Linked DNA regions of Homo sapiens: all the other regions are linked to region 3. The links are contacts of gene promoters, found by promoter capture Hi-C in blood cells and fetal thymus (Javierre and others, 2016). All regions are on one chromosome and are shown on one strand. The core of a region is centred on a gene start or on the middle of the fragment in contact, and the rest is flanking DNA. Distances in the headings are between cores, read along the strand shown. Region 1 overlaps LOC101927702 (a long non-coding RNA gene). Region 2 overlaps DHRS7 (dehydrogenase/reductase 7). Region 3 holds the start of GTF2A1 (general transcription factor IIA subunit 1).

Evidence for each region. Contacts are between HindIII fragments. The CHiCAGO score rates a contact against its expected background, and 5 or more counts as called.
Region 1: a contact is called between a fragment that was not itself captured here and the fragment with the promoter of GTF2A1 in region 3, in 1 of 17 cell types (total CD4 T cells). The highest score is 10.0, in total CD4 T cells.
Region 2: a contact is called between a fragment that was not itself captured here and the fragment with the promoter of GTF2A1 in region 3, in 1 of 17 cell types (activated CD4 T cells). The highest score is 9.1, in activated CD4 T cells.

Annotation. Positions count from the first base shown.
Region 1 is chr14:60,241,100-60,243,875 of GRCh38, forward strand. It overlaps LOC101927702 (a long non-coding RNA gene), which reads right to left. Exons shown (of 3, transcript NR_188027.1): 2 at 1,664-1,771. Among named protein-coding and RNA genes, the nearest start is that of PPM1A, 6.7 kb to the right of the region's middle. The HindIII fragment of the contact is 1,366 bases long and covers 600-1,965 here.
Region 2 is chr14:60,152,086-60,154,785 of GRCh38, forward strand. DHRS7 (dehydrogenase/reductase 7) reads right to left here. Exons shown (of 7, transcript NM_016029.4): 3 at 1,874-1,980; 4 at 854-1,093. Among named protein-coding and RNA genes, the nearest start is that of DHRS7, 12 kb to the right of the region's middle. The HindIII fragment of the contact is 2,174 bases long and covers 239-2,412 here.
Region 3 is chr14:81,219,616-81,222,471 of GRCh38, forward strand. GTF2A1 (general transcription factor IIA subunit 1) reads right to left here and starts at 1,344. Exons shown (of 9, transcript NM_015859.4): 1 at 874-1,344. The coding sequence starts at 903. GTF2A1-AS1 (GTF2A1 antisense RNA 1) reads left to right here and starts at 1,603. Exons shown (of 2, transcript NR_135252.1): 1 at 1,603-1,910; 2 at 2,024-2,856. RefSeq lists enhancers at 1-66, 1-8, 49-138 and silencers at 479-598, 1,129-1,178, 1,209-1,508. The HindIII fragment of the contact is 3,079 bases long and covers 1-2,337 here.

The DNA of each region.
Region 1 (2,776 bases), core at 33-2,532, about 21 Mb before region 3:
TCACGTGGAGAGAGCAGGAGAATGGAGGAAGTGACTGCTGGAAGCAAAACTCTAAGAAAAAACCAATTTTACTTGGAGCTTAAAAAAGATTTTGCTGTGTAATGTGCATTGTAACTCTTCTCCCATCTCCCCAAGGCATCTTTGGTAAAGATGTCATTGTTGGGCTTTTTGTTTTCCATGGCACAATGCACTGAAAGGGCCTCAAGGGGAAAGCAAGTCATCTCTGGAAAGCTTAGCCAGAATTTGCAACAGAAAGAGTGGGAATTTTGGAATCAGGTCCTAGGCTTGCAAAAGAGCTCTTTTTCACAGCCTTAGCTTCCTCCTTTGTAAAATGGAAAAAAAAATAGTTTCTTTTTTGCAAAGTTGTTGTGAGAATTAAATAACACTCATGAGGGGCATTGTATGGAGCTTGGCACATTCTAGGCCCTCTTTTTATATTGAACTAATATGATCTTCTCTGTAATTCCCATGAATTAATTCCAGTTCTATTTTGCAAAACATTGATTCTTTAACCTTTTTCATGTAATGGTGCTCCAGTTTGTCTAGATCCTTCAAGAAGAGAAAATGCATATCAACATCTTTGTATCTAGTTGCTCTCAAGCTTAAAATGATGTCATTTTTCAATTATTGCTTTTATTATACAGTAAAAACATATTTAGAAGAGACTCAAGATAAATATTAAAAGTTAAGCTAGTTACTGAACAAATTTCTTAAATATTTACGAAAAATAAGATCAACACACATTTGACCATGGCAGCTTTTCTAAAGGCAAAGGATCTAATTTGGTGATTAACTAACCATATTGAGCACTCATTAGGTGTCAGGGATGTACCAGTTCTTCTACTGTATTTGGGTGTTTTTAATTATGAATAACCAAATACAAAAATCAAAGTAGTTTAAACAATGAGGAGCATTTATTATCACTCTTAAAAATAAATTCCCAAGGTGGGCAATTGCACGGATGGCTCAATGGCTTTACAATGTGAAAGATCCAGCCACTTGCTATCAATTCTTTTCTCTACATTGCCTTGGTTCTTTGCAAGATAACCTTGAAATTCCAGGCTCACATATAGAAATAACAACATATGGCTGAGGAAGGCATTTTCTCTCCTGTGATTCTTCTTATTAGGGAAGAAAACCTCTCTACCCCCTCAAGACTTCTCAATTTCCTTTATCCAGAATTGGGCTACCTCACTATGTCCCCAGGCAGTGCTTCTCAATTTTTTCACACCATGACACAAATACAAAGATAACGTTTTTGTGACACAGAGGGGTACCTGGGTAATGTTGCTTGTGGCCAGTCATACCATCCCAGGGCTTCAGCAGCTCAGCCTCACTTGAATGTCCCAAGGGCTTAAGGGATCCATACCTTATCACATCTATGACCCATCTGAGACATACCAGGGTATGCTGGCACATAGATTGGTATGCTCTGCTCTAAGCTACAAGGGAGGGTGAGAGAGCATGCATCCATATACATGCTCTAGTGAGAGAAGGATCTGCCAACGAGGAGGCTCTGCCAAGTAGTAGGAAGTGGTGGGGCAACCAACCGCATCAGTCATCTTTTCAAGGGTGCCTTCATCTATTCTAATTTTCACAACACATTTTAGGAGGAAGTATTCTGTGGAGGATAAAACCAAGGCTTATAATTTAAATGACTTGCCTGAGGTCACAGAACCAGTGAGTGGTTCAATTGACACAGCAGATGCAGATCCAGGTGTGTGCTGGGAAATGTTTAACAACCACCTTTCCAAATGTAGTTCCAACATGGCTATTGGTTAATATTTTCATTTAAGATAAAAATAAAACAACAAAAATGTATGTTAGAGCTTATTAGTCAATGATGTGACTTCATTGCTAAATTGAATGTTTTTATGCTATTCACCATGTAACAGTTATAGACACGACATGTCTTTTACATTTAATCTGCATAAAACATTTTCTCTGTCACTTAAGCCTAGACCAAGCTTGTCCAACCCTGGGCCTGTGGGCCGCATACAGCCCAGGATGGCTTTGAATGCAGCCCAACACAAATTCGTAAACTTTCTTAAAATGTGAGATTTTGTGTGTGTGTGTGATTTTGTTTCGTTTTGTTTTGTATTAGCTCATCAGCTATCATTAGTGTTAGCGTATTTTATGTGTGGCCCAAGACTATTTTTCTTCTGCCAATGTGGCCGAGGGAAGCAAAAGATTGGACAACCCTGGTCTAGCCCACAACCAGCAAAGCAATAAGTGAAGCCCTCATCTGTGGTGTCCGCTGATCAAGCTACCAAAGAAAACTCACTAAATGTGGTATTGGGAAGAGATGTACAATTACATATAGGGAATTTCCACCATGCAGACACAATGCATGTAAATTGCCTAAAGAACAAAGACAATATTAAAATGTATTAACATAATTTGGAAGTGATGTTTTTATCACATACTACCTTTGTTTAAAATTTATTTCATTGGAAGTTTATCTAACTTAATTTTTATTTCTATTTTTATATTTATTTATTGATTGATTTTTGAGATGGAGTCTCACCTTGTCACCCAGGCTGGAGTGCAATGGCGCAATCTCAGCTCACTGCAACCTCTGCCTCCTGGGTTCAAGCAATTCTCCTGCCTCAGCCTCCCAAGTAGCTAGGATTACAGGCTCCCGACACCACACCTGGCTAATTTTTGTATTTTTAGTAGAGACGGGGTTTCACCATGTTGGCCAGGCTGATCTCAAACTCCTGATCTCAGGTGATCCACCCACCTCAGCCTCCCAAAGTGCTGGGAATATAGGCAT
Region 2 (2,700 bases), core at 76-2,575, about 21 Mb before region 3:
ACCAAAGCTTCAAATTTTCATGAAACCATGATGACCATGTAGCTATTGCATCTCATGATTCCAACAGTGAAACATTCTACTTAAACTGACTTCAACAGCTTTAAATATAAATTTTGTGTCTTCCTTAATCATTCTTTTCCTATTGGCCTTATAATTTCTTTATATCCAGTCTTAAGCCACCATTAAAAATTCATCCATTTCTAATATTTATACATCGTAAGTTATGCAGTCCAAATCAAGCTTCTCTCCTTGCCTCTGCCTTGACTAGATTTTCTTCTTCCAATGAAACCAGAGAGAATACAGTCAAGATTTTTCCCAGTAAGGATATGAGACCAGGACTAATCATCCTGTGGGAAGTACCTATTTCTGACATGCATATATAATTAGACCAGGCAAAATAAACACCAACTACAAGGGGCAAGGAAAAGAAGTCACAGAAATGGGGAGGAAAAAGTACATCCTGAAGTGTATGTAGAAGAAAGGAGAAGTGGACCCCCAATTTTCCATGAAGATTTAGTAGGAATAAGGATAAGGTGAAGAGTAACATGTTAAATAGATGATACACTTTTTGAGGGCAGAGACCACATCTTATTATCTTTATATCCCCAGGGTCTGTTGTAGTACATGGCACAATGCAGTGCTTGATACATATTTATTTGTTCAACAAGTTAGAGGCATGTGTGGATCAAGTCTTTTTTAGCATCTACTGGGGGTGTCCTCTACCAAAAGTCTCCTTGGGTCTCTCTGTCTCCCCACATCACTTCCAGTTCCAAGGACCTCACACAGTGATGGCCATATCCCCCATATACACATTTAAGTCAGTTCTATCAGAGTTGAGTTTGAGCAGCCTTACCCGGAGAGCATGCTTGCTAGCACAGTATCCAATGGAAAGAGGTACAGATATGATACCCAGGATGCTATTCACAGTAACAATCTTTCCTTGCTTCCTCTCGATCATGTGAGGCAGAACACATTTTGTCAAGGACACCGTCCCTAAGTAGTTAAGCTCTATTAGCTTTCTGTAGACATCCAAGCTGGTATCCATGCACAGAGAACGCTGGGACATTCCACCATTGTTGACCAGAATGTCGATCTAGTTAAATAAAATCAGAAAAGGGGTGTTTGGGGGATGTCTTGTGGATAGATTGATGGAATTCCTATGGATGGTTGGTTATTTTGTTAACTTAAAGAATCAATGGAACAATGGTATATTTCCAGAAGTCAGCAATTAAAAAGATAAAATAAAGCCCTGAATTTACCTGTGGAATTAAATTCCCGTTTTAGGTGACTTTTTGTGAAAGTTAATAATTGTCATTAAAATAAATAAAAGCAGCCAGCTGGGCACAGTAGCCTGTAATCCCTGCACTTTGGGAGGCTGAGGAGGGTGGACCATGAGGTCAGGAGTTCAAGACCAGCCTGACCAACATGGTGAAACCCCATCTCTACTAAAAAATATAAAAATTAGCTGGGCGTGATGGTGCATGCCTGTAATCCCAGCTACTCAGGAGGCTGAGGCAGGAGAATCCCTTAAACCTGGGAGGCGGAGATTGCAGTGAACCGATATCACACCACTGCACTCCAGCCTGGGCGACAGAGCAAGACTTTGTCTCAAAATACATAAATAAATAAATAAAAGCAGCCGTGAATTTTTAGCTTCTTTTGTTCTACATGGAGGAATTTGTACTTGTTAAGACATGAAAAGTACTAATTCCATAATGACAAAGGCTCAGAGATTAAGGGGCCCAACTCATGGGCCCGATCTCACTGCATGGACCCCACTTGCCTAAAGCCCTTTGTATGACAGCACCACGGATGGGAATCTCTTCTGCAGTTACTTCAAAGCAAGACTATATCAATATAAGATGCTACTTACTCTACCAAACTCCTGGAGAACAGCTTTGGTAGCCGCTTCATGGGAACCAGTGTCGGTCAGGTCAAGGGGCAAAACAAGTATATCTTTTTCTTTTAAATTGCCATTCTCTAAATAAAGACAAAAATTTGTGTGGAAGTCATGCCATAGTTCAGTCAAGCTCCTTGCTACTCCCACTAACACCCACCCTGCAACAGGACTTGGCAACAAACTCATTTCTGGGTGGCCCTGTGAAAGTTCCTCTCGGTGGTCAGGAAGAGGACTAGTGGTTATATCAGACAAAAAGCTGGCTGGCCTCACAGGAAGTAGAATGGCAACTTGAATATGCAGTCTAACTTTACAATTTGATTTCTGATAGAAATCAAGATTATACTACAAACTAGAAAAGAGCAAATATTTTAGAGCAATTTCTTTAGAAGTACAGAGGTACCTTTGTTTTGTGATAGGCTCACAAAGATGAGTTGCTCTTCTACACACAAAACAACTACTTGTGCTTAAAATCAGTAAGAAGCTCAGAGTCCTACAGTCAAATGACATATAGAAGCTTCTCTCCAGAGGCTAAGGATTCCTGGAGGTAAACAGGGAAAAGGACACATGCCTGAAATTCCCAACCAAGAAACATGCTGCTGCTTTGTGATTGGCTTTCTGTTCATCAAAAGAACAACTGAAACTAATTTTCCTGGACTCTAACCTTGAAATACAAGTAACATCAGTAAGAAAAACAAGCAAGTATAGAAAATAGAAGAGGTAAAAAGACTTCATGGGCAAAAGAGTTAAGCGTGAAACATCAACTGTATTAAATGAAAAAGTGGGCACTACAGATCTGCAAG
Region 3 (2,856 bases), core at 94-2,593:
GGGCAAAAAACGTGTTTTATTGTCATCATAAAAATAAGAGTTGGGTGGACTAGTGATCACACTGCGTTGGTGACTGAAAAGGTTATTTATGTGACTGCTTTTTGCAAACCTACGTGATCGCAAGTAACAAAAAGGGACCAACGGGAAGAAGTAGGTAAATTTCAAGGCGAAAGCGGGGACACTTGGACCACTGCAGGCTTTTTTTGTTTGTTTTGGTGCTTCTGCTAGGCGAAGATACGATGGGGGTCTTCCCCTTCGCCATTTTACCCATTCGGAAGGAACTGAGATAAGTGCTTTTCAACCAACCTTCGTCCTTTTTTTAAACATAAAATGGCCTCAGAGAAGGTTCCCAAAGCACAGCCGCCAAAAACAACCTAAGAAACCCCCAAAGTAACCATTAATCTTCCACTGCATTAAAGTGGATCACGATGGGTCTCGGGGGTTCGCCCGATTCCCCACACACAGTTTTTGTTCTGTAGCCACTCGGGGAGCCCTCGTCAAGCCAGCGCGGACGGGCCCCTCGGGGGGAAGCGGCGGCTCCCCTCCCGCCCTCCCTCCCGGCGGCCGGGTTCTGGGGCCGGGGCTGCGCGCCCGACCGGGCCCAACCGCCTCCGCGGCCCGGCCCGGCCCGCGGCGGCCCCAGGCCCCACCGGCGCCCCCGCCCTCCCCGCGCCGCGAGCCCTCGGCGCCCCCCCGCGCCCGCCGCCCGGCGCTCCGGCCCGATCCGCCCGAGGCGGGAAGCGGCGGCGGCGGCGGCCGCGCGGGCGGCTGAAGAGTCGAGGCCGGGAGTCGCCGCCGTCCCCGCCCCCGCCCGGTCCGGCCGTTGCTGCAGCCTGAACGAAGCCCCCGCCGGCCACCGAACCACGTCCTTACCACGGTGTTTGTATTTGCCGAGTTCGCCATTTCCACACACAACACAAACAAGAGGGGGCAACCCCAAGAAAACAAGATAAAAACAAAACCAAAAAAAAAAAAACTATAACACCCGGAGGGTGACCCAAATCACCGCAAGATTGGGGAAAAAATTTTAAACAAAATCAATCCTGAAGGAGTAGGGGAGAGCGGAGAGAGGAGGAGGAGGGGGGCACTCCTCCCGCAGCTGAAAACCTCGAGAATCGCCTTAAAAAAAAAAAAAAAGCCACGACCCTTCAGGGGTCCGGGGGGCGTTGCCCGCTCCCCACCCCGCGCCAAGGAGGGAAACCACCACCGGTCACCGCTCCCTGCGCCGCCGCTGCCGCCACCGGCTGCAGCTCCAGCCGTCCGGTCCGCCCGCTTCTCTCCTTTATATAGCGAGCCAACAAGCTGCGCGAGCCACCACCGCCGCCGCCGCCGCCGCCGAGAGACAGGGTGAAGGGGGAGGGAGGGGCGGAAAGGGCGGGGGCAGAGGTGGGCGGGGCTGAGCGCGAGACACCGCGAGAGCCGCGTGCGCAGGCGCGCCGGGGCGGAGGCCGCCGGCGAGCCGCGTTGTCACGCGCCGTGGCGGGTACTGGACTGGCGGAGCCCGGGGAGTGAAGTAGTGAAATCGGACCTACGCCTCTCCAACGCTCGCGTGATCACGTGGTTGGCACCCAGGCGGAAGTCTGCGGCAGTTCTTTGCGGTGAAGAACTTGCAAAGCGTTGCTGGAAAAGACGGGAGTTCTACTGACACTCCAGTCCAAAGCTAGGTGGGACCGCCTCCTGTCGCACGTTTCCGCCTGGTCCCGCGCTTTAGGAGCTAGGAAATGTGACAGAGGCGGTGCCTACTGCCTCGCTAGGAATGGCCGCGGAGGAGGACTGGTCACGTGGCGTGGCTTCCGGCCTCTGGCGCGTTCCTATTCGGGAAGGTTTTAAATGCGGAGTCATCTCTTGATTTGTCAGCGAGGCTTTGACTGTGAGCTTCGCGGCGTTCGCGCCTCACCGCCTCACCGAGGGTGGGTCTTTCGCGCGCAGAATTGTGTAGGATTTTCCAAAGGGAGTAAAAGCCGATCGGGGCCTACTTTTAACATTCCACAATTAGTAACGTCTGATTCGTTTGTTTCCACAGTGGGTACGCTGCGAAGACTAGGCTTATGTTACCCAGAGGTTAGTCCTCTACTAGGCCACGTACTTTAAATAATTTATCACGCTAGTGGAAATGCGGGGTGGAAGAAAACCCCACCAGCCTTTGGATTGTAACAGCACAGTAACTTTCCCTGGTTTTTAAAAATATTGCCAAAATACTGCGACTCCATGTGGCCAACGTATAGTGACTGATCACTTTGAAATGCATGCCCTTGACCCACCAACTCGCATGGCCTCTCGCTATAAGAGAGCAAGCCGGCTGTGTTCCATGTTCAATTCAATAAGTGCAATTCAATAAGCTTTTGACTTGTTCTGCCCAAGCAAATCCTGCCTTTATATCGACCTTGCAAGCAGAACAGAGAATGCTGTTTGGAAGGCAGAATTCATAGTACCTAGTTTTCTTGTCCCTGGGAATTTTGAGGGACTTGAAATGTCGCGTGGATGAGTGAGGGAGTTTGTCTTCCAGAGACAAAGCAAAACGAAACGTCAAAGTTCTGTGCTGGTGAAACCAGATTTGAAGAATATCAAAGGCGTCTTACCAAAGAGGAAAAAAAATGCATCTTGCCAAGACTTGAAGAAAGGGATTAGAGAAACCAGAGGCCTTGAATACTCAGAAAATGGGAGATTGTGAATGGGTGTAGAGGATATCTATGAACCTTGACATTTCTTTTCACGCCAAGTCCATTCCCCTGTTAACAGTTGCTTCCCAGTTTCCTGCACAGCTGCATGGTCTGGGACACTTAAAGAAAAAAATCACAGGAAATCAGTGTTCTTGGTATATTATATAAAGTTATGATTCTATCAACATTTGTAATT